Linked DNA regions of Homo sapiens: regions 2, 3, 4 and 5 are each linked to region 1. The links are contacts of gene promoters, found by promoter capture Hi-C in blood cells and fetal thymus (Javierre and others, 2016). All regions are on one chromosome and are shown on one strand. The core of a region is centred on a gene start or on the middle of the fragment in contact, and the rest is flanking DNA. Distances in the headings are between cores, read along the strand shown.

The links. The method cuts DNA at HindIII sites, captures the fragments that hold promoters and counts their contacts. A CHiCAGO score of 5 or more calls a contact.
Region 2: a fragment that was not itself captured here is called in contact with the fragment with the promoter of KRABD2 in region 1 in 1 of 17 cell types (total CD4 T cells); the score reaches 5.1 in total CD4 T cells.
Region 3: a contact is called between a fragment that was not itself captured here and the fragment with the promoter of KRABD2 in region 1, in 9 of 17 cell types (total CD8 T cells, naive CD8 T cells, naive B cells and 6 more). The highest score is 7.4, in total CD8 T cells.
Region 4: a fragment that was not itself captured here is called in contact with the fragment with the promoter of KRABD2 in region 1 in 2 of 17 cell types (naive B cells and total B cells); the score reaches 7.0 in naive B cells.
Region 5: a contact is called between a fragment that was not itself captured here and the fragment with the promoter of KRABD2 in region 1, in 1 of 17 cell types (neutrophils). The highest score is 5.1, in neutrophils.

The regions. Positions count from the first base shown.
Region 1 is chr17:8,374,075-8,380,215 of GRCh38, forward strand. KRABD2 (KRAB domain containing 2) reads right to left here and starts at 2,630. Exons shown (of 2, transcript NM_001304947.3): 1 at 1,826-2,630. It overlaps RPL26 (ribosomal protein L26), which reads right to left. Exons shown (of 4, transcript NM_000987.5): 3 at 5,722-5,862; 4 at 3,442-3,618. The coding sequence ends at 3,490. RefSeq lists an enhancer at 2,269-2,820 and a silencer at 2,565-2,764. The HindIII fragment of the contact is 1,665 bases long and covers 1,438-3,102 here.
Region 2 is chr17:8,874,978-8,881,118 of GRCh38, forward strand. PIK3R5 (phosphoinositide-3-kinase regulatory subunit 5) reads right to left here. Exons shown (of 19, transcript NM_001142633.3): 18 at 5,928-6,040; 19 at 3,939-5,809. The coding sequence ends at 5,662. LOC124903919 (a long non-coding RNA gene) reads left to right here and starts at 2,405. Exons shown (of 3, transcript XR_007065610.1): 1 at 2,405-3,327. The HindIII fragment of the contact is 927 bases long and covers 3,854-4,780 here.
Region 3 is chr17:8,735,350-8,741,490 of GRCh38, forward strand. CCDC42 (coiled-coil domain containing 42) reads right to left here. Exons shown (of 7, transcript NM_144681.3): 4 at 6,125-6,141; 5 at 41-262. Among named protein-coding and RNA genes, the nearest start is that of CCDC42, 6.4 kb to the right of the region's middle. RefSeq lists an enhancer at 3,483-3,983. The HindIII fragment of the contact is 3,288 bases long and covers 816-4,103 here.
Region 4 is chr17:8,055,818-8,061,958 of GRCh38, forward strand. No RefSeq gene overlaps it. Among named protein-coding and RNA genes, the nearest start is that of ALOX15B, 20 kb to the left of the region's middle. RefSeq lists enhancers at 1,860-2,377, 1,861-1,930. The HindIII fragment of the contact is 2,579 bases long and covers 1,335-3,913 here.
Region 5 is chr17:8,099,307-8,105,447 of GRCh38, forward strand. ALOXE3 (arachidonate epidermal lipoxygenase 3) reads right to left here. Exons shown (of 16, transcript NM_021628.3): 14 at 4,809-4,909; 15 at 4,017-4,187. Among named protein-coding and RNA genes, the nearest start is that of MIR4314, 14 kb to the left of the region's middle. The HindIII fragment of the contact is 4,448 bases long and covers 918-5,365 here.

The DNA of each region.
Region 1 (6,141 bases), core at 1,380-3,879:
TCTGGGAAGTGAGGGGCCCCTCTGCCGGGCCGCCACCCCGTCTGGGAGGTGTACCCAACAGCTCATTGAGGACGGGCCATGGTGACGATGGCGGTTGTGTCGAATAGAAAAGGGGGAAATGTGGGGAAAAGAAAGAGAAATCAGATTGTTACTGTGTCTGTGTAGAAAGAAGTAGACATAGGAGACTCCATTTTGTTCTATACTAAGAAAAATTCTTCTGCCTTGGGATGCTATTAATCTATAACCTTACCCCCAACCCCGTGCTCTCTGAAACATGTGCTGTGTCCACTCAGGGTTAAATGGATTAAGGGCAGTGCAAGATGTGCTTTGTTAAACAGATGCTTGAAGGCAGCATGCTCGCTAAGAGTCATCACCACTCCCTAATCTCAAGTACCCAGGGACACAAACACTGCGGAAGGCCGCAGGGTCCTCTGCCTAGGAAAACCAGAGACCCTTGTTCACATGTTTATCTGCTGACCTTCCCTCCACTATTGTCCTATGACCGTGCCAAATCCCCCTCTCTGAGAAACACCCAAGAATGATCAATAAATACTAAAAAAAAAAAAAAAAAAAAAAAAATTGAATGATTCGGCCGGGCGTGGGGGCTCACACCTGTAACCCCAGCACTTTAGGAGGCGGAGGTGGGCGGATTACAAGGTCAGGAGATCGAGACCATCCTGGCTAACACGAGGAAACCCCGTCTCTACCAAAAATACAAAAAATTAGCTGGGCATGGTGGCGAGCGCCTGTAGTCCCAGGAGGCTGAGGCAGGAGGATGACATGAACCCGGGAGGTGGAGCTTGCAGTGAGCCGAGATCGTGCCTCCGCACTCCAGCCTGGGCGACAGAGCCAGACTCTGTCACAAAAAAAAAAAAAAAAAAAAAAAAAAATTCAATGTTTCACCTATATTTACAGATTGGGAGATTTCACATAAATCTCGATTTCTTTCTTTTTTGAGACAGAGTTTTGCTCTGTCATCCAGGCTGGAGTGCAGTGGCGCGATCCCGGCTCACTGCCAGCTCCGCCTCCCGGGTTCACGCCATTCTCCTGCCTCAGCCTCCCGAGTGGCCGGGACTACAGGCACCTGCCACCAGGCCCAGCTAATTTTTTGTATTTTTACTAGAGATGGGGTTTCACCGTGTTAGCCAGGATGGTCTCGATCTCCTGACCTCGTGATCCACCCGCCTCTGCCTCCCAAAGTGCTGGGATTACAGGCGTGAGCCACTGCACCCAGCCTCGATTTCTGGCTTTCTTGAAAAGGCAACATTCTGGCTGCACTGGCGGCATTGCTGCCTGGCAATAACTGGCTGTGATGGAGAGGCGGCATCTTCCTTTGGATCAAGCTTGTCCAACCTGTGGCCTGTGGGCTGCACGCAGCCCAGGACGTCGGGACCTACTAACCTATTCATCTTACTTGCCCACTCCTGCACATTTCTAAGCTTTCAATATCTTTTTTCTTTCATTTTTTTTTTTTTTGAGAGGGTAGGGTCTCACTTTGTCACCCAGGCTAGAGTACAGTGGCATGATCACGGCTCCCAGGGTCAAGGCATCCTCCTACCGCAGCCTCCCAAGTAGCTGGGACTACAGGCATGCGTCACCAGACCCAGCTAATTTTTTCTTTTCTTTCTTTTTTTTTTTTTTTTGTAGAGACGGGGTCTCATTATGTTGCCCGAGGCTTCAGTATCTTTTCCAAAGCAACATGAAAGAAATGTGACCGTAAATCAATCAGCTTCTTGGTGTGATCTATGTGACGGCTAGGTGATAAACGAGTTGGTCAGAGAAAACTGGAAATATTTCCAAAGCCATGTTTACTCCCTTCACCCACCTGTGAGTCTTCGCCTTGGCTGTTTCCGACTCGGAATGTCCTCGCATTGATCCTCCCAATCACAGCCAGCTGAAACCAGCCTCCTTCCTGACGTATTCAGTAACTTTAGCTGATTGCCATCTCTCCTTCATCTCAACAACCTGTACCACACTCACTGGAGCACTTCGCTTTGCATCTTTAGTCGACCAGTTCAGATATATACAACCTATAAGGTAGGGACGGAGGCTTCTACCTGCCTGTACCCCCTTTGGAGGGCCCACGAATACAGAGCTGAGCACAAAAGATGTTTAAAGGACATTTTGTCAAAAATGTCGCTTACAGGTAGGTCGTTATTAGCAAGGTAGAGCAGCGGTACGGCCGAGTCTACGCTTGGGAATTCATTTGCTGACTCTTATCATTTACTGACTAAAGCAAAGTTACTGAGGCCTCAGTTTCCTCATCTACAACCCGGGGAGATGACCAGTACCCATCACAATCGATTGCTATGAAGATTCAATGATAATGCAGATAAGGCACTTAATACAGTGTCCCCTCACCGTCCACACCACACGGGCACGCCCGCTTATTCCTGAGGACCGGGCTGGGATGTCGCCTCCTTTGTGTAGCCTTCCTACCCTGACTTCGCAGACTGCTCCCACCGCCTGGATCCATGCCCGTCCACCCGCCAGCTCAGGGCTGAACGGCTGAGGCGGGCGCGCGGTGGAGAAAAGAGCTGCAGACTGAGGAAGGTCAGGAAGGAGAAAGGGACACACCAGACGCGGCGTCTGAATCCCCCTCCACCCAGAGGCCCCCGAGCAGCAACTCCGCCCCACCTCCCGCCCGCTCCGCCGGAAGCCGGTCAGCGCCAGCCGGAAGCCCCGCCCCCTAGAGGCACCGCGGACACCGTGCAGCGCTGTTCACCCAGATGCCAGCTGTGACCTTGGCTAAGCCAGTGACTTAACTCGGGCCCGTTCCCCATTCCCACGTTGTTGCCAAGTCTCCAGCCTGGAAAGTAAACGGGCTTCAGGTGTCCTGTTTAGATGCTTAAAATGAGGAACGGCAGGAGCACACACACTGCTGCCACCTCACACCTTTTCACTTCATCCTGACGAAGCTGCAGTTTAGTTTATATTTTAACTCAAAGACGTGTTAGGTTTTGGTTTGATGGCACTCATCCAGCACTTGTGCAGAAAACAAGGTAAAGGGGGCCCATGGGTCTATCAGATAACCTGAACCCGAGACCTCTCAATCTGGAGGAACAGCTTGAAGAAGTCATCTAGAAGCTATAAAGTCACAGAAGCTTCTTATCCTATTGAAAGCAAGACTTCCTATCCAATGGCAATACAAACTTTTACGCAGTAAGGTAAAAAATATAGCCTGTCCATATAGCAACCTATCCATAGTAAGCAAGTTAAAAGACAGGTTCAAGAGGAAGTGTTTCCAACTAGCTTTTCTTGTAGGCCTTCTTCTTCTCAATGACACCCCTCCAGCTTCTGATATATCCTCAAATGCTGCTGCCCACTATAAAAAAAATCTCATCAGTCCTGATTTCAGAAAAATTTTAGACCAACAAATCAGAGGTAAGAGACTGATCCACTGAAAACTAGGGAGTGTCCTAAATCACCACACACAAAACACAGGCTCTTTGTTTCAAGTTTTAATCAAAGCTTGTATATAAGATTACTTTATTCCTGCATCTTCTCAATGGTTTCTTCCTTGTATTTGCCCTTTTCCTTTCCTACTTGGCGAGATTTGGCTTTCCGTTCGAGGATCTTTTTGCGGTCTTTGTCCAGTTTTAGCCTAGTGATAACCACCTGCAGAAAAATAAGAAAAAAACACTCCCAAGCTTTAAATAATCACTAAAACACAAGGGAAAGCCCAACATTCAATACCATTTCCCAAACCTGGGGTAGGTGGATGCCTAATAAGAAAAGATTTTAACTTTTAAAAAACTCCAGAAATCACTCTTTAGCCATCAAACCTGGCTTATTTACTAATTTCCTACCAACAAAGGAGAAAAGGCAAGATGGTATCAGTAATTCTTAAAGCCTCTTCTGTGCTTCATTATAAGATTTGTTTCTTTTTCACTGAGAAATATATGATTCTGCTCTTCTCACTACAGTTTTACAAGCTGTCATATACAAATATATTTGTTTCCAAAGTAACTTCAGGCTGGGTGCGGTGGTTCATGCCCCCAATCCCAGCACTTTGGGAGGCAGAGGCAGGCGGATCACCTGAGGTCAGGAGTTTGAGACCAGTCTGGCCAACACGGTGAAACCCCTTCTCTACTAAAAATACAAAAATTAGCTGGGTATGGTGGCACATGCCTGTAATCCCAGCTACCTGGGAGGCTGAGGCAGGAGAATCTCTGGAACCCTGGGGGGGCGGAGGCTGCAGTGAGCTGAGATGGTGCTATTATTGCACTCCAGCCTGGGCGATCAATCGAGACTCCATCTCAAAAAACAAACAAGTAACAAAACAGCAGGGTGTGGTGAATGCCTACTCAGGAGGCTACTGCGGGAGAATCGCTTGAACCCAGGAAGCAGAGGTTGCAGTGAGCTGAGATCGCACCATTGCACTTCCAGGCTGGGCGACAAGAGCAAAACTCTGTCCAAAACAAAAAAAACCCCACCCCCAAACAGAAAAATAATAAAGTAACTTCAGAATTTTAATGCTAGAAATTAAAGGTAGCATCCACACATAATTCCACCTGCAAAATCTTTAGTGAGAAGATGACAATACGATCTTACTCCAACAGTTCCAATCCTAAAAGACATCCAAATTATGATAAATTTTAGTCTTATGAATGCGAGGAAAGGGTGAAAAGAGGTGCTGGAAATACAGCATGCAGACCAAACAAAAATCTCCACAGTCACTGAACTCATATTCTAGTATAGGGAGCCCGAAAACATTTACAAGTGAATCTACATCACTTTGATAGAGTAAGAAGGCAAGTGTGAGGAGGCCGAGGGGCTTTCTAGAGTGATCAAGCAAAGCCCTACATTTGAACAGAGACCTAAAGTGGTGAGCAATCTATCTATGCACAGGTATCTGGAAGAGAACAGCAAGTTGAAAGGTTCAAAGGCAGGAGATTATCAAGTTTCATAGATGTGTTTCTCAAACTTGAGTAAGAATCAACTGGAGGGCTTATTAAAACATACACCTGGGTCATAAGCCCTAATTTTGCCTCAGTAGGCCTGGGCTCTTAGAATTTATAATTCTACCAAGTTGCTAGGAGGCGAGCAGACTAGAACATATAGAATGGAAAAAGATGTCAGAAGTAAGGGAAGATCAGTTAAGGTCTTTATTTTTTTTCTTTTTTTTTTTTTGAGATGGCGTTTTCACTCGTTGCCTAGGCTGAAGTGCAATGGTGCGATCTCGGCTCACTGCAACCTCCGCCCAATATACATAATGGGACAGGCATGGTGGCTCATGCCTGTAATCCCAGCACTTTAGGAGGCTGAGGCAGGCAAATCACCTGAGGTCAGGAGTTCAAGACCAGCCTGGCCAACATGGTGAAACTTTGTACTAAGAAGTACAAAAATTAGCCGGGTGTAGTGGTGCACGCATGTAGTCACAGCTACACTCAGGAGGCTGAGGCGGGAGAATCGCTTGCACTTGGGAGGTGGAGGCTGCAGTGAGCCGAGATTGTGCCACTGCACTCCGGCCTGGGTGAAAGAGCAAGACTGTCTCAAAAACAAACTAACAGAAACATAATGACCGTTAACACTTTGATGTCAGAAACATTTTAAATGGTATTAGAATTTTCAATACAAGTGCAGTAGTATTTACTTTAAAATGTTTTTTTCCAGCACATGTAAAATCAAGGACTATTTCTATGGCCTTGCTCTGTAAACAATCATGTCAACAATAATTGCCATAATTTCCTTCTCTCAAGCATTCTCAAAAACACCTACCTTGCTGGGGTGAATGCCTACGTGGACAGTTGTGCCATTAGCCTTTTCCCGCTGCACCCGTTCAATGTAGATAACATATTTCTTCCTGTAAACCTGGACTACTTTGCCAATTTGCTGACCTTTATAGTGTCCACGTACAACCTAAGAGCAAATTCAAAAGTAACAAATATTTGAATAAAAGATTAACCTTGTAAATCAAGTAAACAAACTCATGCATACACCATTCACCCTATCATTATATTAAAAGGTTAAAAAAAAGAGCCCACTTCGGCAACCTGTAAGAAGTTGACAACAAGGAATCTGTTACTCCATCTCAAAAGCAGCAACAGACCAAGAGTATTTAAATCTGAACCCATTAATGTGTGCAACCTAGTGCTAGTCAGAGGGCAGCAACAAATGCTTAACGGAACAAACCAATTC
Region 2 (6,141 bases), core at 3,067-5,566, 500 kb after region 1:
GCTAGATTTTCTTTTATACTTTGGTTTAGAAAGGGGAGGGGGATCTAGTTAAAACAATTTTACAGAAATAAAGTAGGCAAAAAGTTAAAAGGATAAATGGTTACAGGAAAGTAAACAGTTCCAGGTGCAGGGGCTTTAAGACTATTACAAGGTGATAGACGCGGGGCTTTGGGCGTTATCAATCGGACGAATTCCTGGGAACTGCGGATATCACTCGCCACAGTATCTTATCAGTTAATTGCATTTTTGGATGTGCTGGGAGTCAGCTTGCACAAGTTAAGTCCTCGAAGAAGGGGCTGCCAGTGAAAGAGCCAAGATGGAGTCTGTCTGGCTCTCTTACCTAAGGGAGAGTCAATTCAGGTGGAACCAAGGCTAGGTGATTAAAGGAAAGAGGGAGAGTCTAAAAACAGGGTTAGTAAAAACAAGGTTGAGCATTACACCTGAGGCCCGGTAGGCTACCTGGACTACAGTCTCAGCAGCACCATCCCCTTTCACATTGCGTCCCCTGATGAGCCCTACACACTCCCCGGAAAGTAGACACTGTGTCATTTTCACAGGCAAGGAAGCGAGGCTTGGAGACATCGGGAGGCGGCCAGGGTCACTCCAAGGGTGAACGTTCCTGCTCCTCCCTGGCCTCCCTGTGATCCGAGGTTTAGCCTGAGAGAGTGCCGTATCCGACAAAGGGAGCAGAGGAAATGTAAGGCCACAGGGGTTCTGCCAGGTGCAGGAAGGAATGATGGAACTGGGGGCCAAGAGAGCGCTCCCTTCTACGGTCCCAAACCCTGAGACCCGCAGTGCACAGCTTGATTTTGGTCCCCTAACTGAGGCCTGCCCAGCCTTCTAGGAAGCAGGAAGTGGCAAAAGGAGACACCTATCTCCTCCCAAAGTTGGAGAAATATACCCATTCCAGGGATGGCAAGACCAGGAGGTCAACATGCCTAGGGCAGAAGTAATTCTGCTGTGAGTAGTGGGAGGTGAGAGTCTGCAAGTTTATGGCCAGCTCCTGAGCTCTTGGTGAGGTACCATGCGGAGGAGGGGCCACCTTGAGGAGGAGGATGGGGTGCTGAAAAGGACAGCCTCCTCCTTTCTCTTCATCTGCCAACAGCAGGACCCAATGGGGATTCTAGTTTCAGTCCCCTACCTCGGCCCCTTTCCTCAGTGTTCAATGACTCGGATTACAAAAGCTCATGGACTGGATGAGACATTCTGGCTCAGAGCCCCTTTAGCCTATAACCACTTGGCCCATGGATTCGCCTACAGCTCATGGTGATAGTATCCAGGGTATGTGTCTGACCAATAGGGGATCCATTCTTAGGTCAGCCAGTGATTTTTGTGAAGTATGGTTTAAAGAATCTTCTGTCTGGGCGTGGTGGCTCATGCATGTAATCCCAGCACTTTGGGAGGCCGAGGTGGGTGGATCACCTGAGGTCAGGAGTTCGAGACCAGCCTGGACAACATGGTGAAACCCTGTCTCTACTAAAAAAATAAAAAAAATTAGCTGGGTGTGGTGGCATGCGCCTGTAGTCCCAGCTACTTGGGAGGCTGAGGCAGGAGAATCCTTTGAACCCGGGAGGCGGAGTTTGCAGTGAGCTGAGAATGGGCCACAATGTTCTATCAATTTCAGTAACATCAAATTTGTTAATTGTGTTGTCCAGATCTTGTATATCTCTATTAAAATTTTTTGTCTATGTGTTCTATCAGCTATTGGGAGAGATATGTTGACCACTGTGGTTGTGGAGACTTCTAGTTCTGTCCATTTTTGTTTTATATTTATATTTATATACAGTTTATATTTATATAGTGACATGTATTTATATTTATATATAATTTTCAGTTGTTATTTGGTGTATATAGCTTTATAACTGTAATACCTTTTGTTGGACTCCTTAATCTTTATGAAATGTTCCTCTTTATTTTTTGTAATGCTTCTGCTGTTAAATCTTTGGATATTAGTGTATTGACACCAGCTTTTTTGGTCCGGTTTTGCATCTTTGGATATTAGTGTGTTAACACCAGCTTTTTTGATCTGGTTGGTTTTGCATGGTGTGATTCTTTCCATCCTTTTGCTTTCAACCTTTCTGTGATGTTATATTTAAAGTGTGTCCCTTGTGAGCAGTTTATAAGTTTTTTGTTTTGTTTTGTTTTGTTTTTGAGATGGAGTCTCGCTCTGTCACCCAGGCTGGAGTGCAGTGGTGCGATCTCGGCTCACTGCAAGCTCCGCCTCCCGGGTTCAGGCCATTCTCCTGCCTCAGCCTCCTGAGTAGCTGGGACTACAGGTGCCCGCCACCGCACCCGGCTAATTTTTTGTATTTTTAGTAGAAACGGGGTTTCACCGTGTTACCCAGGATGGTCTCGATCTCCTGAACTCGTAATCTGCCTGCCTCGGCCTCCCAAAGTGCTGGGATTACAGGTGTGAGCCACTGCGCCCGACCGCTGCAGTTTATAAGTTTTTTTTAAAAAAGTATTATCAGACAATTCTGGGTGTGTGATTCCAGGTTAGTAGGTTTGTTTTTTCCCCTCATACTTTAAAGATATCATTTCATCATCTCTGGCTTCCATTGTTTCTATTGAAAGAGAGAGTTCTCAGTTTAATTGTTGCTACTTTGAAGATAAAGTGTATTATTTTCCTCTGTCTTTAGTATTTTCTTATTACCTTTTTTTCTTTAGAAGTTTGACAGTAAGGGGTGTGTGTGTGTGTGTGTATGTGTGTGTGTGTGTTTAAGAAAAAACTGAACTCCAGATTGTATTGGGATTTTACCAGTTTTTGGATTAATGTTTCAGGATACAAGCCAGTGTCTACTGCTTATTTTTCAGGTTTACTCCATCTCTTTTTGTTTCTCAGTCTTTCCTTATTTTTTGTGACAGTAAGAGAGTACTGGTCAGGTTATCTGGTCCCATAGTCTGGGTTTATATGATCTTTTTTACTCTTGATTAGACTGGAGTTATGGAAAGAACATCAAAGGTAAAGTGCACTTCTCATGTGATTTTGTTTTTTTCTTGTGTGGAGATTCCTGTGTCAAAATTCCTGTGCAAAATTTGCTGGGTTTATTAAGTCTGTGGGTTGATGTGCTTCATCAGTGTTAGCCAATTATTGGCAGAAGGAATATTGTTCTTGTTCCAGGTTCCATTCCTAGGAGGCATCGCGTGTCTCTGCTTGCCTCTCATGCTGGTCCAATGTGTCTGAAAGACCAACGAAGCAGATCTGCACCCATCCTGCAGCTTGGAGCCAAGCCACTCTGAGCCCAGCCTAGATCAGGTGGTCCCTAGATGTCCTCCAGATGCATGAGCAAGAACAAATGATCGGAGACTTAGTTCCCTGAATTGAAGGTATGCTTCATTGTTTGCAATAGCCAGCTGATGCAGAGCTGGAACAGCTCACAGTTCTTTCTCCCTCCATCCTGAATAGTGTTCTGGCAACCTGGTACTTACCTCCCTCTCCCAAGCCACAGGTGTCCTCTACCATCCCTCCACTTCTTCTTCTCTCTTTCCTTATCACCCAAGTCTAAAGGCAGTCCCAGATCCAAAGGGCCATTATTGAGCTCTCTTCCCCTCCTCTCAGCTGCATGGTAGGTCCAGGATCCACTGTGCCACCCATCCGCAGCAACGGCCTCAGGCCCGTCCCCTCCCTGGAGCTTGGGGTACAGGAAACAGATGGATATATGGGTATATATTTCTCAAGTGAAGTAGCACAGGAAACCCCAAATGCTGAGTCCTTAGGTGTAGGAATTTTTGTTCTGTGGGTCAGTGAGTATGATGAGGCTTAAGCAGAACAGTATTGGGGAAAATTTTCACCCAAATATATTTTCTATAGGGTGGAAAATTACAAAAAGAGAAATAAAACAATCCCCTATGAAGCTTCTTTCTGGTATAAATAAAATGATTTATATAAACTGTCCAACTAGCAGGGTCATGCAGCAAAGTAACTACTGGTCATTAAATATAGGACAAATCAAGTTTTATTTGACAATAATATTAAATTCCACTCATTAGTTCCTGGACATCTGTTGATCACATAATAAGACAACCTGCCCATACAGCAAAAACATATTGAAGATACATGGCCCGCCACTCTTCTGGAGCTTAGAGCAAGAGCAGACATTAAGACAGGGGAGAGACGGCCAGGCAAGGTAGAAGCTGGCTCTGTCCACGTCTCTCAAGTCATGAGTACTCTGGGCTGGAATTTCACGTAAGGCCTTTTGGGCATAATGAATTAGGAGGCGGGGAAGAGGGACTTTGTGCAGGATACAGTTCATGCTTCCGTGGCTACTTTCTCCACATCAGTCCAGATCCTCGTCTTGACTTCTGCCCTATCTCTCTAGCCCATGTTTGCTTCCAGCTTCTCAAACCACTTCAAGCTGGTTGCTTTGAATTTCAGACTCTCGTGTCCTATCCTAGGCTGACCATTTCCCATGCACCAGTCCCATTTCCCCTGAGTCGGGCACTAAGCTCTGTGAGGCCAGTCACTCCATCCTCTGTTCTGGGATCTTGCCCAGGTGCCAGAAGAGTGCCAGTGAACTTGCGGATATGGAAGATTGTACACGCAGAGTGAGATGGGAGTGGGAGGGCCAATCTGATACAGAAGGGGGTGAAGGGTAGGGCCCCTGAGCAGCCCACCCCTTACCCTGACGAAGGCAATCCTCCTCTGGAATGTCTCTTCCCTCTTCAGTCTGGGTTCTGCCTCAGCCACGAACTGGGAAGGAGTGAGGAACATCCCAACGGCAATGAGAGTATCCCAGTGACTCCAAACAGGAGGAATCAGTGTTCAGAAAGTCAGGCACTAAGCTTTACTGAACACCTACTGGGAGCTCGGCACTGGGCTAGGTGCTTTGCAGACAATTTAACCTTTTAAGGATGTCTTATTTCCACCCCAACTCTCCACTCCATTTTAGTGCTGGAGAAATGAAGGCTTAAAGTTAATTAACTTCCTCTAGTGATTTAGCTAGAACTGAGCTGCTACTAAATTTAACCCTATCCTGTCTTCTAAGAATCTCAGATTCCAAAAGGAGATCAAGAGAGAATCTGTGCCGGGTTCTGAGAGTAGACAGGTCCAGCGTTAGTGCTGTTTTTCTGGAGACTCAGGAAACTTGAGAGAAATTATTGAGGTGTGTGCGTGTGTGTGTGCGCATGTGCGTACATGCATGCCATGTGTGTGTGGTGTTTGCAGGGAGAGGTGGTCTTGAAGTAGAGAAATGTTTCATCCACATTTCAATCACCTGAGCCCCACAGAGGAGGGGACTGAACTCCAGACATACAGGGTCCTCAAGTCTTTGGCAAAGTAAGGGGTAGGCTCAGCCAAGGTTGAGAGAAAAGGCCCAAGCCATCCCCCTGAGCACCAGAGCCTCAGATCTTCCTTCTAGAAAGGATCCTAGACCATGCTAATGGTCAGGGACTTCAGAGGTCAATTTACCCATCCTTCTCCTTCTACTGCCAGGAATCTAAGAGGCTATGGGGTCTGGCCCTTCTCTCTCTGATAGCTGTTGCTTTCCCAGAACCCTGAGGCCCCAGAAACCCTCTACTCCCAGCCCCTGCTCATTGCAGGACCCACAGTGGGACTATGGCTCTGCACAGGGCCATTCAGTTCTCCACAGAGAGGGACTGTCCTGGAGGGGTGGCCGAGGAGGTTGCCCCAGGGCTTCTGTCCAGTCTGGCGCTGGGCCCACACTAGGGCAGAGCTCCACTGAAAGTCATGATGGGCAGGCAGAGAAGGGAGCAGAGATCAGGTGCGGCCTGGGCCGGCAGGTCAGGAGGCGTCTGGGGTGGTGAGGAGAGGTCGCTCTTCTCTGGCTTGTAGCACGGTGAGACCTCACATCTGTGCAGCAGGGCAGGGGCCAGGGATCAGAGCAGGCCCCCATCCTTCCAGCTCCTTCCAGGCCTCTGGGTTGGTGGGAGCAGAAACTGCTCCCCTCCCTAGGACCCCCCTTTCCTACCTGACTACACTCTGCAGGATCTTTCTCTCATCCTGGTCCAGGCACACAGCAAAGGGGCAGCTGTTGGAGCCGATGATCTGCACCTTGTCCACTTTGATCTGCGATGTGCTAATCTGGAAGGAAGGCCCAGGTCAGCCCCAAATCCCTGGCCATCCAACACTGCCAGCCCCTGGCAGTTCCTTTTCTCAGAACTGCCCATCCACTTCTAGGGGTG
Region 3 (6,141 bases), core at 1,210-3,709, 360 kb after region 1:
CCAGTGCCTGGGAGCCCCCGGCCCGCCCCGGGCCCCTCACCCAGAAGATGACATTGCTGCGGGCACGGTCAAAGCGCATCTGCAGCCTTGCCAGCTCATTGTTTTGCTGCAGGATCTCATCATCCTTTTCCTCCATGTAGCGCGCCAGCCGGGCCTTGGCGCGCTCAATCTTCTCCTGGCCTTCCTGCGCAGACTGCATGAGGTCGTGGCGCATGCTCACCAGCGTCTTGTAGCGTGCAATCACCTCATGGATCTCCTCGAACTGTGGTCAGGGGCTCAGGTCAATGCACAGCCAGCCCCTGGGGCCTGAGGGAGCCACCCAGTCCTGCCAACCTCCAGCCTGGATGCCTGGACACCTGGACACCTGGGCAGGCAGGCCCTTGGCCAGGGTCACGGCCAGAGGCTGTGAGGGACACTGGGGTTCCGCTGCCTGCTTCTCCTGGGTTTGTACGGGCCACGGTCCATTTGTTGGGCAGGGGGATGCACAACTGGGCTAGGGATTTTCGACTTTAACTGCATGTGAGAATCACCTGTAGGGGCTTTAAAAAGGACACCTGCCAGTCTCCACCCCCAGAGATTCAGATGAATAAACAAGTCTTCTGTGGTCTCTGGCATCTGAATTTTGCAAAAGGTCCCCTGGTGGCTCTAGGCACAGCCAGGGTTGATAATCGCTGATGGAAGGCATTTTGCAATGTCTTCCAAGGCAAGAATTTCCTATTCAACAAGATTGTACCAGGAACCACTTACAAGCCAGGAGCTATGCTAAATGCTAGGGAAATAGCAGGAGTTAGGAAAACCAGATTCTGCTCTTAGGAAGCTTACAGCTTGGGGGGTGGCATGGAGGGAGGACAGACAGACAAGTAAACAGTCAGTTACAACAGCAAGATAAGCCCTATCTATGACTGGGGGATAGGGCTGGAGGGGACTCTGGGAAAGCCTTCACGTTGGTGATCTCTGGTATTTGTTCATTTACTGAGGGAGAAGCAGGGATAGAGAGGGTGCTGGTGGGGCAGGTGGCCTGCCAGACTCAGCTCACCTCCCCCAGCCTGGTCCAGAACCATGCCACTCTGGCCCTAACCCTCAGGTCCCACTCAGTGGAACAGAAGCCATGAAACCCACGCTCTTTAGAAGGCAGCATGAACACCAGTTCTGTGATACCAAGTTGCCTTCCTAGGGGCTTATCAAAGCATGCCTTTCAGCCGCCCAGGGGAAACTTCCCGAGCACCTTCTCCATCTCGTGACATCTCCAGTGATGGATGCGTGTCCTGGGAACTGCCCTGCTGGCCTTTCCCCAAATATGCCTCTTTGGGGAAGGGCCACCCAACCCAGCACGGAAAGAGGTAGGAACAGCCAGAAAAGGTTTCATGGGAGAAAGTGTGGCTGAAATGAGATGAGAGGTATATAAATAGAAGATAGCTAGCAAAAGCAGGTGTAGGGAGGTGAGGCAGTGCTACAGGTGAAGGAGACAGCCTGGGCAAAGATGAATGGAATAGGGGGTTGTATGTTCAGGATGCTGAAGGTAGCCTGAGTTCAAGATGGGGAGGGAGAGACTGAGAAGAAGAAGAAAGGAAGAAGAAAGCAGAAGAAGAAAGAAAGAGGGAAGGAGGAAGGAAGAAGAAGAAGAAGAAAGAGAGAGAGGGAGGGAGGGAGAAAGGAAGGAAAAGAAAAAAAGAAAAGAAGAGGGAGGGAGGAAGGAAGGGAAAGAAAAAAGAAAAGAAAAAGGAAAGAAAGAAAAAGAAAAAAAGAAAAGCAAGCAAGCAAGCGAGCTCAGTAAACCTTGGGAAGGAGTGTGGACTTTATCCATTGAAGGATTTTAAGAAACAGACAATTCACGTGTGCATTTCTGAAAGTTCATCTGGCACACAGTGCAACAGTGTACCACAGTTCAAATAAATGGACCACATCAGAGCTACTAGGAACACACCTCTAAACTTAATGCTGATGTCAAAAGGATTTAGGTGCCAAATCGAAGAGCCACCCACTGCCCAAAGATGAGATGATTTGAACATTAGTAAGAATAAGTGCAAAGGATTAAAACATATCAAATATGTTAAAAATCCATCAGTTCACAATGATACTAGAAACATTACAGGTCAGTGCTAGAGAACAAATTCATTATTCTGAAAACTAAATAAAGCATTTAACAAACTTTCTCTGCGAGACCCACATAGTAATCAAATGGTGGATGAAGGAAAGGATCTCTTTATGAAGTCCTTTTCTTTATGGTAGTATTCTAGCAAATAAATGAGGAAGGGTTGCTAGTGAGTGTCTTCCCCCGACCAGTGAGGAAACCAATATTCTGACTTCTATCAATAAAGATTAATTTTACCTGTTTTTAAACACATCAATGGAATCATACGATATAACCTCTTTTGTGTCTGGCTTAAGAAGCATACCAACTAAGGGCAGTGTGAGGACCTTATATGGACTCTCATTGGAACAAACCAACTGTACAAAAAGCATCCGTGCAATAATTTGTCTTAAAAGACAGGGTCTCACTCTATTGTTCAGGCTGGACTACAGTGGCATAAACACAGCTCACTGCAGCCCTGACCTCCTGGGCTCACGCAGTCCTCCTGCCTCAGCCTCCCAAGTAGATGGGACCACATGTGTGTGCCACCATTCCTGACTGATTTTTATTTTTTAATTTTTTGCAGATTTGGGGGGGGTCTCACTTTGTTGCCCAGGCTGGTCTTGAACTCCTGGGCTCAAGTGATCCTCCCACCTCAGCCTCCCAAAGCACTGAGATTACAGGCATGAGCCACCACGCTTGACCCATTTTGTGCAATAAATGATACTGATATTTGATGTTAAGGAATTACTATCAATTGTATAGTAGGTGTGACAATGGTGTAGTTATTTTAAAAAGAGCTCTCATCTCTTAGAGATACATACTGCAGAGAGACGCAAATGGATGAAAATATATTGTTTGCTTCAAAATGGCAGAGGTGGGAAAGTGTGGGGGATGTGACTATGAATTAATCATTATTAGAATCAGGTAATGAGCAACAGGTGTTCAATAGACTATTGTCTTTACTTTTGTGTATGCTTAAAAAATTCCGTATAAAAAGTTACAAAACATTAAATGTGACAAAATAATAAGCATGATTTGAGATTTTTTTTTTTTTTTTTTTGAGACGGAGTCTAGCTCTGTCACCCAGGCTGGAGTGCAATGGCATGATCTTGGCTCACTGCAACCTCTGCCTCCCGGGTTCAAGCAATTCTCCTGCCTCAGCCTCCGGAGTAGCTGAGATTACAGGCACCCGCCATCACGCCCAGCTAATTTTTGTATTTTTAGTAGAGACAGGGTTTCACCGTGTTGGCCAGGGTGGTCTCGAACTCCTGACCTCGTGATCTGCCCACCTCGGCCTCCCCAAAGTGCTGGGATTACAAGCGTGAGCCACCGCACCTGGCTATTTGAGAATTTTTGAAAGCAGAATACTCAAATAAAAAGTTACAAAACGTTAAATGTTACAAAATGTTACAAAATAATAAAAAGCATGACTTGAGAATTTTTAAAAGCAGGATACTCGTGATGTCTGAGGACAGGTGAAGAAACATAAGATTTGGAAGGACACAAAGGAGTTCATTTACTGGATTTCAATTATCGGTAGTGTTTGATTTAAGACAAAAGAACTGGGGGCAGATGGGGAAAATACGAAGATTTAGCAAAGCTGTGTGATGAGTACTTGGTTGCTGTTATGTGTGTCTCTATACTTTCCAGTATTCTTAAAGTATTTTGAACAAAATAAAGAAGAAAAAAGAGAAAGAGAGGGGGGCTGGGGGAATGCTGAACAGGCTGGCCAGGAACGACGCCAGAGTTGAACTCCAGACGAGGTACCACTGGTGGCCTGGATGAGGAAGGGGCAGGGGCTGGATTCCAGAAATACTTCCAAGGCAGAACAGACCAGATCTGCTGATTGATAGCTGTGGCACTGAGCAGGAGGGAGGAGCCAAGGAGGCCTGAGTTCTGGCGGGGCTGTGAGTGGGTGGTCCTGCCTTTCACCAGCACAGGTCGTCGCGCCAGCGGCAGGGCTGTCCTGGGGGTGGCAGGAAGCAGATGAGATGAGTGTGCATGGGATGAATTAAATATGGGGGTCTCAAGCTTAGGAGGGAGAGACAGGCCAATTTCCTCCATTCTAAGATATATATTTTCCCAACTCTGAATTCAAGACACATCTTACAATTTTTTTTTGGTTTGTTTGTTTTTGAGACGGAGTTTCGCTCTTGTCGCCCAGGCTGGAGTGCAATGGTGCAACCTCGGCTCACTGCAACCTCCGCCTCCTGGGTTCAAGCAATTCTCCTGCCTCAGCCTTCCGAGTAGCTGGGATTACAGGTGCTTGCCATCACGGCCAGCTAGTTTTTGTATTTTTAGTAGAGACGGGGTTTCACCATGTTGGCCACACTGGTGTTGAACTCCTGACCTCAGGTGATCCACCTACCTCGGCCTCCCAAAGTGCTGGGATTACAGGCGTGAGCCACCGTACCTGGCCACATCTTGTAATTCATCTGCAGTTTTAATCTGGTAGTCCCTCCTTACTTCCTGCCCCCCCAACAAACCCCAACTATGAAATGAACCACTGACCTTATAGTACGTAGCACCTTTGAGTGGAGGAAATAATGCAGAGGTGGGACTCATGCATGAGTAAATTAGGTTAGTGGTTTGATATGGAAATTGTGGGACCTTTAAACAGTTGTGCATCCTGTCGCCCCTTCCCTCAGAGGACATGGATCCACACCCCTGGAGGAGGTGCCTCCATCTGCCCTAGTGAGGGGATCTTCTGGCTGTTGGTCACATGGGGGAGGAGATAATGTGACATGGGTGGCATCCATGGGAGGCCCTGGACATTGCTAAGAAGAAAAGTGGAGGATCGCTCACGCCTGTAATTCCAGCACTTTGGGAGCCCAAGGCAGGCGGATCACGAGGTCAGGAGTTCGAGACCAGCCTGACCAACATGGTGAAACCCATCTCTACTAAAAATACAAAAATTAGCTGGGCGTGATGGCGGGTGCCTATAATCCCAGCTACTCGGGAGGCTGAGGCGGGAGAATCACTTGAAAACCGGAAGGTGGAGGTTGCAGTGAGCCGAGATCAAGCCACTGCACTCCAGGCTGGGCAACAAAAGTGAAACTCCGTCTCAAAAAAAAAAAAAAAAAAAAAAGTGGAGGATCTGAGACAGAGAACCTGGACCCACCACACAAGAAGGAGCTGGGAAGAGGCGCCCCCGCCGGAGGAGCCTGAGAAGGAGAGGTCAGAGGTAGGAGAGAGAGGGAGGTGCCACTGAGTTGAGGGCAGAGGGGGGTTTCCGGGAGGGGCATCGGCAGTGTCAGACGCTGCCCCCAAGAGGCGCGGTGGAACCAAGAAGTTCCCTGGGCTCCGGCTACAGGGACTGCAGGGAGAGCCCTCATCAATGGCACTGTGGGGCCCACTGAGGAGTGGCTAAAAGCAAAGGCTCTCCCCACTGACGAGCTGCGAGACTCTGAACAGGTGACTTAACCTCTCGGAGCCTCCATTTCCTTCTCTGTAAAAGGCTGATCAGCTTGGGTTCACCCTGGGGCTCACCAGCGAACTGAATGAAGTTACCCGTGTGAAGCACCAACCCCGGGGCCCAGCACATACAAAGCACCCTAGTTCTGCAGGAGGTTGGGTGTTTTTCCAACTCCTCTCCCTTCCTCTCCCCAATTTACTCTCCAGTAAACAGAAGACACTGAGAGGAGGGGATGCAGGGATAGAGGGAGGCCACGTGCTGACACACACCCACACACACACCCCTTTAGACAGACGCAGCCATGGACACACATGCAGACATAGACACGCAACTCATGCAAGATACATACACAGTTGTGGCTCACACAGACACACAAAGACACACCACTAGGCCCCACCCCTTGAGAAACTCATCCAGCCTCACCAGAGGCTTCTTTTAGCTGCTCCCCAGTGCCCCCCAGGGCTGGGTGCATCTCCTCGGAGCAGGGTGCCCATCCTGCAGAGCTCCTGGGGCCCAGAGGGTCCACAGTCCCCAGCCAGCTGAGCCTGAATTCCATCCCATGGCCCCAGGCCCCGGGGAAGAGAGGTGGGGCTGAGGAAGGTGCCAGGGCCGGCCCCCCTGCTCCTTGGACTCACCTCGGAGTTCTCCACCA
Region 4 (6,141 bases), core at 1,374-3,873, 320 kb before region 1:
CTAATTTGTATGAACCATGTTTTTAATTTGTTTGAAATCCCTCCCAGGGTGGAGGGAGAGCTGCTTGTGCCACCCCAGAACAGTGCCTAGAACCCCAATCCCTTCTTCTCTCTGCCAGGTCCTCTTCCAGCCTCCTCTTTATCTTTGTGCCCGCCTTCCCCTCACCGCACCCCCATCCATGTTGGACATCCCAGGGGTGCCTTTGCTCACTACCCCAGGGAATGAGAAACAGACTCTTCTGTCCCCACCCGCATCCCCCACTGACCTAAGAAGGTGCTGAAGCCTGGGACAGAGACAAAAGTGGCAGAAATGGAGAGGGATGTGTGGGTTGAAATAGGGGGCTTGGATGTGGGCCCAGGTGGTTGAGGACCAGCCTACACTGTGCCCATTTAAAGATTAATAGTATATGCTTTAGAATAGTGCTTTACTAATATGATTATGAATCATAAGTATAATAGCTTGTGCTTAGTACAACAATAAGAGAATCAGGCGGTGAGCTTGCTTGACTGACCACAGAGTGGAACAAACAACCACAGGAAGTCTGCGGAGCCTCTGAGCAAGAAAGTTGGCTTATTGCTCAACCTTCCACTTGAGTGCCTGAACAAAGGTCTCATGGGAAGGGAAGCGACCCCTGCTCCATTACCCGGGAGGGTACTGCAGGAGGCTGCTGGTAAAAGAGGAGAAGTCCTCTGCAGTAGGGTTAAGGAGGAAGCCTCCTATCTCCCGCATGTTCCCAGAGGCAAAGCAGCTGCTCTGCTGACGGTGCTCAGGCGTTGACCACTCCTTTGATGTACAGGCCTGTGGGTTTGAAGGGCTGTTTGCTTTCACGTCCTGTTCTGTTCTATTAGCCGCTTAGTTGGACTCTGATGATTATCTGTAAGTTAAACATAGAGTATTAGCTTACGTAGTGGAACAGTAAATAGTATTAACTGGCTAATGACCGACACAGCAGGCTCCGCCACCTCTCCCTATGCTCACCCAATGATCACCTCACCATCAGCCCACCCTCAGCCTATAGGATCAAAGGAACTGTACTCAATAAATATCAGTGGAACCCAGAGCTCCTGGCCTTTGCAATCTCCACGTTGCGATGGATCCTTGGACCCACTTTTGTTAACTCTTAAACTTTGTGTCTTTGTCTTTATTTCTTTTCTCATTCCCTCGTCTCCACCGGGAAGGGGAGAGCCTGCGGGTGGTGTATCAGGCAGGTTCCCCTACATCTTTGGCACCCAACACGGTCTCCTTGAACCCAGGTGAAGTTACACCTGAGCGTGGTCGTTGTGAAGAACGGTCTGTCCAGGAACTCCCGAGAACGTGTGGTCGGCCTTGCGGTAAGCTTGTGCACTCGGAGCATTCCAGGGACACCATGGGACAATCCAAAAGTAAACATTCTGCATATTTACATTTTATTAAGCTCCTCTTAAAGAGGGCAGGAATTAAGGCTAGCACAGAAAATTTGATTACTCTGTTTCCAACAGTAGAGCAATATCGTCCTTGGTTTCCTGAACATGGTACCATGGACTTCAAAGATTGGGAACAGGTGGGAATTGCCTTAAAACAAGTTTGTAAGGAAGGAAAATTTATCCCCCTAACAGCCTGGTCAAACTGGGCTATAGTTAAAGCAGCCTCGGAACCGTTTCAATCGGAAAATGAGGCTTATCCTCCAGCAGAAAGAATTTCTGCAGAGGAAGGTGGTGATGCTGCTGAAGGAGGAGAGGATAGTGAAGAAGATTTTGAGGAAAATACAGACAAACCTGGAGATGAGTTAATTTCTTTTGAGGAGCACGTGGGACCTTCAGCTGCTCCTAAAATAGAGAAGCCATATATGCCAAGATGTTTAAAACAAAGAAGGGCCTTGAGGAGCAGTCGGCTCCTCATTGGGATCATCCGGAGTGGCCGCCTCCAATAAAGCAATGTAGCTTGGAGCCTTGGAGGTCTGAATCTCAAATTTGCCCTGTTTCACGAATGAATGAATTGTGGCCTCAGGAACCACGAGCGCATGGTGTAGCACCAGTACAACATAAGGCTGCACTGCCATCTAATGTTAATGAATCGCCATTACAGTTTACTATTCGGCAGGCTAGATTAGCCGGAGATCTTGATGCCTGGCAGTTTGCAGTAGTTTTGCAACCCCCACGACAGCAAGGTGGAGCCCATCAAGCGGTATGGGAACCATTTTCTTTTAAGCTGCTCAAAGATCTTAAAGCAGCTGTTGGTCAGTATGGTCCCAATTCGCCTTTCATCCGATCGCTATTGCAATCTGTGGCTCAGAATAAGCTATTGACTCCGTGTGATTGGGAGATTTTAACGAAAGTTACACTTTCGCCCTCCCAATTTCTTCAGTTTAAGACTTGGTGGACCGACGAGGCTCAAAATCAAGATCGAAAAAACCGTGCTGCTAATCCTGCTATTGCCATTACATTTGAACAACTTCTAGGAATAGGGGGTCAATGGGGAACTGTAAACAACCATCAGGACTTCGAGATGATGCCATTGAACAAATTCGCAATTGCTGTTTGAGGGCATGGGAGAAAATTCAGGATCTGGGAACTACTTATCAGTCTTTTAATTCTATTAGACAAGGCTCAAAGGAACCATATCCTGATTTCATTGCTCGCCTTCAAGACGCAGCACAGAAGGCTCTCACTGATGAAAGTGCCAGGAAGGCCGGGTGCGGTGGCTCATGCCTGTAATCCCAGCACTTTGGGAGGCCGAGGTGGGCGGATCACCTGAGGTCGGGAGTTGGAGACCAGCCTGACCAACATGGAGAAACCCCGTCTCTACTAAAAATATAAAAATTAGCCGGGCGTGATGGCACATGTCTGTAATCCCAGCTACTCAGGAGGCTGAGGCAGGAGAATTGCTTGAACCCAGGAGGCGGAGGTTGCGGTGAGCCGAGATCACGCCACTGCACTCCAGCCTGGGTAACAAGAGCGAAACTCCGCCTCAAAAAAAAAAAAAAAAAAAGAAAGAAAGAAAGAAAGTGCCAGGAAGGTGATTGTAGAATTATTGGCTTGTGAGAATACTAACCCTGAATGCCAGTCAGCTATTCACCCAGTGAAAGGAAAGGTTCCGGTGGGAGTTGATGTGATTAATGAATATATCAGGGCATGTAATGGAGTTGGTGGAATCATGCATAAGGCTATGATAATGGTTCAAGCCACGACAGAGTTAAAAGTGGGAGGTCCAATTAAAAACTTTTCAGGCAATTGTTACAATTGTGGGCAATTTGGACACACAAAAAAGGAACGTAAGAACAAATCGAACAAACAGGCAAGATATAATCAAATAAAAGAACCACCTGGCTTATGTCCCAGGTGCCAGAAGGGTAAACATTGGGCTAATCAGTGTCACTTCAAATTTGACAAAAATGGCCAACCGTTACAACCGCAGTCGGGAAACAGGAAGAGGGGCCAGCCTCAGGCCCCGCTCCAAACGGGGGCATTCTCACTCCAGCAGTTGGTCCCTCAGTCGGTCATTGCCTCTAGTCCAACCACCATCATTGTCTCTTGCCCAACCACCACAGTAACACAATTGGCGCCAGCTACAGCAGGGAGTACAGGCTTAGATTTATGTTTCCCAAAAGCTATCTCTCTGCTTCCAGGGAAATCCCCTCAAAAAGTCCCCACTGGAGTATTTGGCCCTTTACCTGATGGACAGTTGGACTTGTTTTAGGAACATCTAGTCTAAACTTAAAAGGAGTTCAGATTCATACTGGGCTGATTGATTCAGATTTTGTGGGAGAAATTCAATTGGTTATTAGTTCCAGTATTCCTTGGAGTGCAAACCCAGGAGATAGAATTGCTCAGCTGTTGTTATTACCTTATGTAATAGTAGAAAAAAGTACAGTAAAAAGAGAAAGTGGTTTTGGCAGTACTGACAGTGAAGGAAAAGCAGCCTATTGAGTAAATCAAGCTTCTAAAAACAGACCTGTGTGCACAATGATTCAGGGAAAACAGTTTGAAGGACTGGTAGACACAGGTGCTAATATTTCAATTATAGCTCTAAATCAGTGGCCAAAAGCGTGGCCCCGACAAAAGGCTTCTATGGGCTTGATTGGAGTAGGCACAGCATCTGAAGTCTATCAAAGTGCTACAATTTTACATCGTTTAAGACCAGATGGGCAGGAAGTCACCATCCAACCTATGATTACTTTCATTCCCATTAATTTGTAGGGGAGAGATTTGTTACAGCAATGGGGTACAGAAATCACCATTCCCCCTGCAATTTACAGTCCTGAGAGCCAAAGAATGATGACCAAAATGGGATATATTCCTGGGAAAGGATTAGGAAAAAAATGAGGACGGAATAACCCAGCCGATTGAGGTCTCAGTTAAATTTGACCGAAGAGGAATTGGATATCCTTCTTAGGTGCGGCCACTGTTGAGCCTCCAAAGCCCATTGCATTAAAACGGAAAACTCCAAAACCTGTTTGGGTTGATCAGTGGCCGCTTCCTCAACAAAAACTGGAGGCATTACATTCATTGGCAAAAGAACAATTAGACAAAGGACATATTGAACCATCTTTTTCACCATGGAACGCCCCAGTTTTTGTAATTCAGAAAAAATTCGCTAGATGGCGCATATTGACCGACTTATGAGCGGTTAACGCAGCCATTCAACCGATGGGAGCTCTCCAACCAGGGTTGCCATCTCCGGCCATGATCCCAAAAGAATGGCCGATGGTAATAATTGATCTAAAAGATTGTGTTTTTTACTATTCCTTTGGCTCCTCAGGATTTTGAGAAATTTGCATTTACAATACCTGCCATGAATAACAAGGAACCAGCTACTATATATCGATGGAAAGTTGTACCCCAAGGAATGTTAAATAGTCAAACTTTTGTTGGAAAGGTTATTCAGCTTGTCAGGGATCAGTTTCCTGATTGCTATATTATTCATTATGTTGATGACATTTTATGTGCTGCTGCAAGCAGGGACAGACGGATTGAGTGTTTTGCTAGGCTACAAGAAGTGGTGGGACTTACAGGTCTCGCTATAGCACCAGATAAAATCCATACTACACCCTATCATTACCTGGGAATGAGGGTACAGGAGAAAACAGTAAAGCCTCAAAAGGAGGAAATTCGTAAAGAGTCCTTAAAAACCTTAAATGATTTCCAAAAATTATTAGGGGACGTTAATTGGATAAGACCTACTTTAGGAATTCCCACCTAAGCAATGTCTAAACTGTTTGCTTTGCTGAGATGGGATCCAAATTCATGTAGCAAAAGAACTCTGATGCCTGCTGCAGCTGAAGAGTTACAAATGATTGAGGAAAAAATTCAAAGTGCTCAAGTCCGTAGAAGAGATCCTAGTGTTCCATTACAGCTCTTAGTGTTCCCTACTCTCCATTCTCCTATAGGAGTGATTGTTCAAAATGTTGACTTAGTTAAATTGTCCTTTTTAACGCACAGTACGACTAGAACTTTCTCAATTTATTTAGATCAAATAGCTATTCTTATAGGCCAAATACAACTGAGAATAGTCAGACTCATTGGCACCGATCGAGATAAAAATGTAGTTCCTTTAAACAAAGCACAGGTTCGACAAGCCTTTATTAATTCGTCAGAATGGCAGTCAAATCTGGCTGATTTTGTTGGCAGTATAGATATTCATTACCCTAAAACTAAAATGTTTCAGTTCCTAAAAATTGACTACCTAAATTTTACCCAAAATAACTAGTTCCATTCCTTTGGAGGGAGCCGTAACTATCTTTACTGATGGCTCTCAGAATGGAAAAGCAGCTTATACAGGACCGGAAGAAAAGATTATTCAAACTCAGTTTCATTCTGCACAAAGAGCTGAGCTACAAGCAGTTATATCTGTATTGGAAGATTGTAATCAACCTGTTAATATAATCTCTGACTCTGCTTACGTATTCCAAGCTGCCAAAATGGTAAAAACAGCTTTAGTAAAACATATTTCTGATGATCAGTTAAATTTCTTGTTTAGTTCACTTCAACAAGCAGTTAGGACTCAAAATTTTCCCTTTTATATTACACATATTTAGGCTCACACAAACTTACCAGGACCTTTAACCCTATTAAATAATCAAGCAAATTTATTAGTGACGCCTGTTCTAACAGTGTCCGGCCTCTGAGCCCAAGCTAAGCCATCATATCCCCTATGACCTGCACG
Region 5 (6,141 bases), core at 1,892-4,391, 270 kb before region 1:
GTCATATGGGTGGTAGGTGTGGATCTGGGACTAGAGCCTTCCAATGAGACCCACTGCCCTTCTTAGTACTACCAGCCGGGCGCGGAGGCTCACGCCTGTAATCCCAGCACTTTGGAAGCCTGAGATGGGTGGATCACCTGAGGTCAGGAGTTCGAGACCAGCCTGACTAACATGGAGAAACCCCATCTCTACTAAAAGTACAAAATTAGCCAGGTGTGATGGTGCATGCCTGTAATCCCAGCTACTCAGGAGGCTGAGGCAGGAAAATTGCTTGAACCCGGGAGGCAGAGGTTGCACTGAGCCGAGACCGCGCCACTGCACTCTAGCCTGGGTGACGGAGTGAGACTCTGTCTCAAAAAAAAAAAAAAAGTAAAAAATCTTCTCTGCATTTGTGGTTATACGCCTTTCCCATTCCTAATGCTGTGTATTTATGTTCCCTTTCTTTCTCTTTTTTATTTTCCTCCTTGATTAGAATTGTCTAGGCCAGATGCAGTGGCTCACACCTATAATCCCAGCACATTGGGAGGCTAAGGCAGGAGGATCACTTTAGCCCAGGAGTTCAAGACCAGCCTGGGCAATATAACAAGACCCTGTCTCTACCAAAAATCAAAAAATTAGCCAGGCGTGGTGATGCCTGTGGCCTCAGCTACAGGAGAGGCTGGGGTGAGAGAATTTCTTGAGCCCAGGAGTTTGAGGATGCAGTGAGCCATGATCATGTCACTGCACTCCAGCCTGGGTGACCCTGTCTGGAGTTGACCAGGCTTTTTTTCAGACAACCTGACCCTGTCAAAAGAGAGAAAGAGAGAGAAAGAAAGAGAGGGAGGGAGGGAGAGGGGGGAGGGAGGGACGGAAGCAAAAAAAATAGTGCTGTAAGTGACAGTCTGCCACTTCTGGGCCTAGACTTGAAGAAATCTGAAAGCTTGTTTGCAATCTTGGAAGCCAGCCACCGTGCTATGAGGAAGTCCAGCTATCCTGCTGGGGAGAGACCCCTTGGAGAGTCCTGGGGGATAAGACAGCATATGGAGAGAGAGAAAAACCACACAGGTGCACTGAGGCCCCAGACATGTGAGCAAAGCCTTCTGGGAACTTCCAGCACAGCCCAGTCACCAGCTGATTGCATGCAAGTGTTTCACCCTAGCCAGTACCCTCTGGACTGCCCAGCCTAGCCCTGCCCAAATTTCTGATCCAGAGAATCTTAAGAAAAAAGAAATATGTCTGTAGTTTTTTTATTTTATTGTATTGTGGTTTTTTTTGAAATAACAAGTTTTATGTTTTTAAAATCAGATTGACATCTAATTTCTTTTTTTCTTTTCTTTCTTAAAGATGGGGTCTTGTTATGTGGCCCAGGCTGAAGTGCAGTGGCTATTCACAGGCATGGTCATGCACACTGCAGCCTTGAACTCCTAGCCTCTAGGAATCCTCTCTCTGCGGCCTCCTGAGTAGCTGGGACTACAGGCCTGTGCCATTGCACCTGGCTTAATACTTGATTTCTAAAACTGTAGTATAGCCATCAAAAAAACAGAACACACACACACACCAGAGAAAGAAAGAGAAAACACAGCAGAAGACAGAAATATGACACTGGATTCAAAGCCTACTTACTAGCTCTGTGCTGTTGAACAAATTGCTGAATCTCCCTGAACCTCAGTTTTCTCCCCTGTGAAGTGGAACTACCATTTATTGAACATTTATATGCCAGCACGGTGCCAAGCTGCTTTTTTTTTGTTTTTTTTTTTTTGAGATGGAACTTCACTCTTGTTGCCCAGGCTGGAGTTCAGTGGTACCATCTCAGCTCACTGCAACCTCTGCCTCCCGGGTTTAAGTGATTCTCTTACCTCAGCCTTCTGAGTAGCTGGGTTACAGGCATGCATCATCATGCCCACCTAATTTTTGTATTTTTAGTAGAGATGGGGGTTTCACCATGTTGGCCAGGCTGATCTCGAACTCCTGACCTCAGGTGATCCACCCACCTCGGCCTCCCAATGTGCTGGGATTACAGGCGTGAGCCACCACGCCTGGCTGCCAAGCATTTTAAATAGAGCTATGTATTTGGTTCACATTTTAAAATCATGTACACAAAGGATCTGATTTAATAACTGAGACATGATGGCTCCTCAGTGACAGCTGCCATTATTATTGTTGTTATAAATTTCCAAGTTAAACTTTCTATAGTTTATAGGAGAGAGCCCTCCACCCTCATGCTGTTGTCTACTTATCTGTCATCCCTCTGGGACCAGATAGGGACAGGACCCAGAGTCCTGCCATTCCCAGGATATAAGGTAGCAAGTTAAAACTTGCCAGGAAGATCAAATATGTGGGATCTTTCTTTTTTTGTTGTTTTTTTGTTTTTTGTTTTTTGTTTTTGTGTCACCCAGGCTGGCGTGCAGTGGCGTGAACATGGCTCACTGCATTTTTTTACTTCCTGGGCTCAAGTGATCCTCCCACTTTAGCTCCCCCCAAGCAGCTGGGACCACAGGCACACACTAATACGCCCGATTAATTTTTGTGTTTTGGGTAGAGACAGGGTTTCACCATGTTTCCTAGGCTGCTCTTGAATTCCTAGGCTCAAGCAATCCACCGGCCTCAGCCTCCCAAAGTGCTGGGATTGCAGGCACGAGCCACTGTGCCCAGCAACATCTGGAATCTTTCCAGCACCAAAGGGAGTCAAGCGTGAGAAATAAGAATATTCACCTGTTAGAGAGCTTGTGTGCAAGACGGCTGGGTGGAAACAAAGATGATGGGAACCAGTGATAAAGGGCTACTTGCCTGGCCTAAACTCAGATATTGGCCCCTCTCTAGCCTCCTGCCTCCAAAGTTGCCCTTTGCATCCATTCACGCAGCCACAGGAGCACCCTAGCTAAAGCAGATTTAACCATTGGGCCTCAGGCTTAAAAGTCTTGATTGGCGGCCGTGCGCGGTGGCTCACACCTGTAATTCCAGCACTTTGGGAGGCCAAGATGGGTGGATCACAAGGTCAGGAATTCGAGACCAGCCTGGCCAACATGGTGAAACCCCATCTCTACTAAAAATACAAAAATTAGCTGGGCACAGTGGTGGGTGCCTGTAATCCCAGCTACTCGGGAGGCTGAGGCAGGAGAATCGCTTAAACCTGGGAGGCGGAGGTTGCAGTGAGCTGATATCGCACCATTGCACTCCAGCCTGGGTGACAGAGCAAGACTCCATGTGGGGGGGTGGGGGAAGCCTTGATTGGCTACCCTTTGTCTTCTAAACGAACACTGTGCAGACAAAGCCCTACCTTCCTCTCCGCTCTGCTATTTCCATTTGTGATCCTACAAACACACCAGTGATTTCTCGCCTTCGCTCCTTGGTCCTGTTCTTCCCCCTCCCTAAAAAAGAGCCCTGCTCTTCCTCTCTGTCCAACTCCTACTTGTCCTGCAGATTTCAACTTAGATGTCACTTTCTCCAAGAAGCCTTCCTGGGTTCCCCCAGACCCATTTAGGTTCCTCAGGGCCCTGTCCTTACCCCTATCACTGGACTGTAAGCTCACATGGACAAGTTTCATAGCTGCCCATAACAGTGTCTGGGTCACCACTGGTACTCAGGAAGTGTGTGTTGAATGGAGAAATTAACATATAAGTAACTCCTACAACACGGTGGTGCCCTTTTTCATTGACCTGTATGTCTCCTCAACTAGACCACAGGCTTCTTGAAGGCAGGAAGGTCTCAGCCAGCGTTATAGGCCTGGTGCCCAGTGCTGTGTGGACACATAGGAAGTATCCAACAAATGTTTATTGAATGTTTGCATTAACACATGAGTAGTTGATGAATGAACATTCGGATAAATGGATGGACGGACAGATTGGTAACTAAACTGGTATTTGCTTCAGTCTATGTCTTTTGGGATTATCATTTTCTGAAGAAATTGAAGAACCCAAGGCAGTTCTGCAGTGAACATAAATCCCGTCGATCAGTCCTCAAGCCCCCAGACGAAGCCACCACCACCCCTACTGGTGGCCCTAAAGAACCCTACTCCCCTCAACATCCCGTATACACACCTGGTCCTTGGGTTCTTGGCTAACCAACCAGAAGAGGAGGAGGTTGTTACAGCTGATGTTCACTTCAGGGAGGGTGTCTAGGTAAGTCTTCAGGGTGGTGGTCCCCTTGGTCTGGGGTGGGGGCTGCCTCATGGATGATGGAGCATTGGGCATCCAGGCCCCAAAGTCATGCTGTGGAGACCCCCATCCCAGTTGGGTCAGTTGGCCAGAAGGGGAGTATCACCTCCCTCTTCACCATCCCTGATTCCACCTCTGCCGTCCTAGAGGTGATAGTTGGGAAATGAGGGGATCACGGAAAGGCAAGAGAGCTGGGAAATGAGGGGATCATGGAAAGGCAAGAGAGGAAAGGGTAGGGAGTGGAAAGTCCCAGAAGTGGGGCAGGAAGCCAGCTTACTCCTTGTCACTCCCCGCCCAGTGTTCCAGGACTCGGTGGGGTGAGTCACTAGGGAAGGAGGTGGCCCCAGAGTGGAGGTAATCCTAGAAAAGGGCCTTGGGTTGCCATGCCACACAGAGCAAGCTGCTACTCCACCTGGCTGGGTTCTAACCATGAGAGGAGCCCCTAAGTTCTTCTCCCAAATTAACATCAACTTGAATCACCATTACAACCTTGGACCCAGCTCCACCCAGTCATCACCCAATGCCAACCCTTCACCCCACTCAGCTGCCACTCCAACCCCAAGTCTAATCATAAACCCACCCCAACGCTGACCCACCCAAGCTCTCAACCCAAATTCAGGCCTCAAGTCCATTGCTGAGACCTGATGTCCCCAGGCCTGCCCTTTGTAGCCTCACCTGCCCACTGTTGACAGCAGCGTGCTGGGCAGAGCAATTGAAGATGATTGCAGTGAGGAACTTCACCATCTCTCCTGGGGTGCACAGCCGGCTTGGGAAACCTGGGTGTGGGGAGGAAGGGTAGAGGGTGTGGATGGAAGGTACTGGATTCCTAGGGCCAGCTCAGGACTGGGGCTCACCACAGGGGGAAAGTGAGGAAGTAGGGAACACCGAGCCATGACTGTCTTGTCGGGCTGGTTAGGGATGGCCACCACCAAGATTTGTGGTCTCTGAAGTGGGTCAGGATAGGAGATGGGGGCTGGGATCTGGCCAGAAAATCCCCGGCAGGCAGGGCCAATGACAGAGGCAGCTTCAAGCCCAAGTGCCCAGCTGCCTCTCCCTGACTTCCAAGGCACTTCAATCTGCAGCCCCTATTAGGATGTAATGATTTAATCCTACCCGGTTCACCAAGATTTGTTCAAGCACCCAGTATCCAACCATCCTCTGCTGGGCTTAGCAGCAGAGACCCACGCAGAGGGCGTGTTACTGAAAAGCTCACAGTAACAGAAGCAGAAGGAAGCTTCTAAGACCAGAGCTTGGCTCTTTGAGGAGAGGGCAAGCAGGGCAGAAAGGGGCACCAGGAGCAGAGTGGTTAGTGGAGGCCTCCTGGAGGACAAGAGGGGCCTTGTGAGTTGAAAGATGGATGAGCCTCCAATGGAAAAAAGACAACAGAGAAAAGCATTTCAGGATTGGAGAGGGGAGAGCTCCAAGGCTCAGCCCTTGGTCCATTCATGCTGTGCCTCACTCATCTCATCCAAGTCCATGGCTCTAACCACCTCCCACTTGCCAACAACTCCCAAATTCCCTTCTCTGGCTGTGCCTGGCGTCTGAGCTCCAGACTCAGCCGTGGGCATTACCCTGGAGGCAGCTTACCTGACGTCCCCACCTAAGCATCTACACCACCTCACACTGCACACTGGCAAGGACAAATGCCCGTCAGATTACGTCACCCCTCGCTAAAACCCTCGGAGGGCTTCCCATCTCACTCACCTTGTCATGGCCCTACTTGATTGGGCCCCAGCCCCTTCTCCCACTTCATTTCCTTCCTGGCTGTTCACTTATTCGACTCCAGCTGTGCAGGCCTTCCTGATAGTTCTCAAATGCACCAGCACATTCAGAATTCAGGGCCTGCACACTTACTATACCTCTGCCTGCTACTCTTGCCCCAATTATCTTCAGAACTAGCACCTCTCCTTCCTTCAGCTACTAATGCATCAGCTCCTGAGAGGCCTGCCCTGGCCACCTCCCTGAAATGATCTCTTTACCTTGACACACTGTATCCCCTGATGCTGTT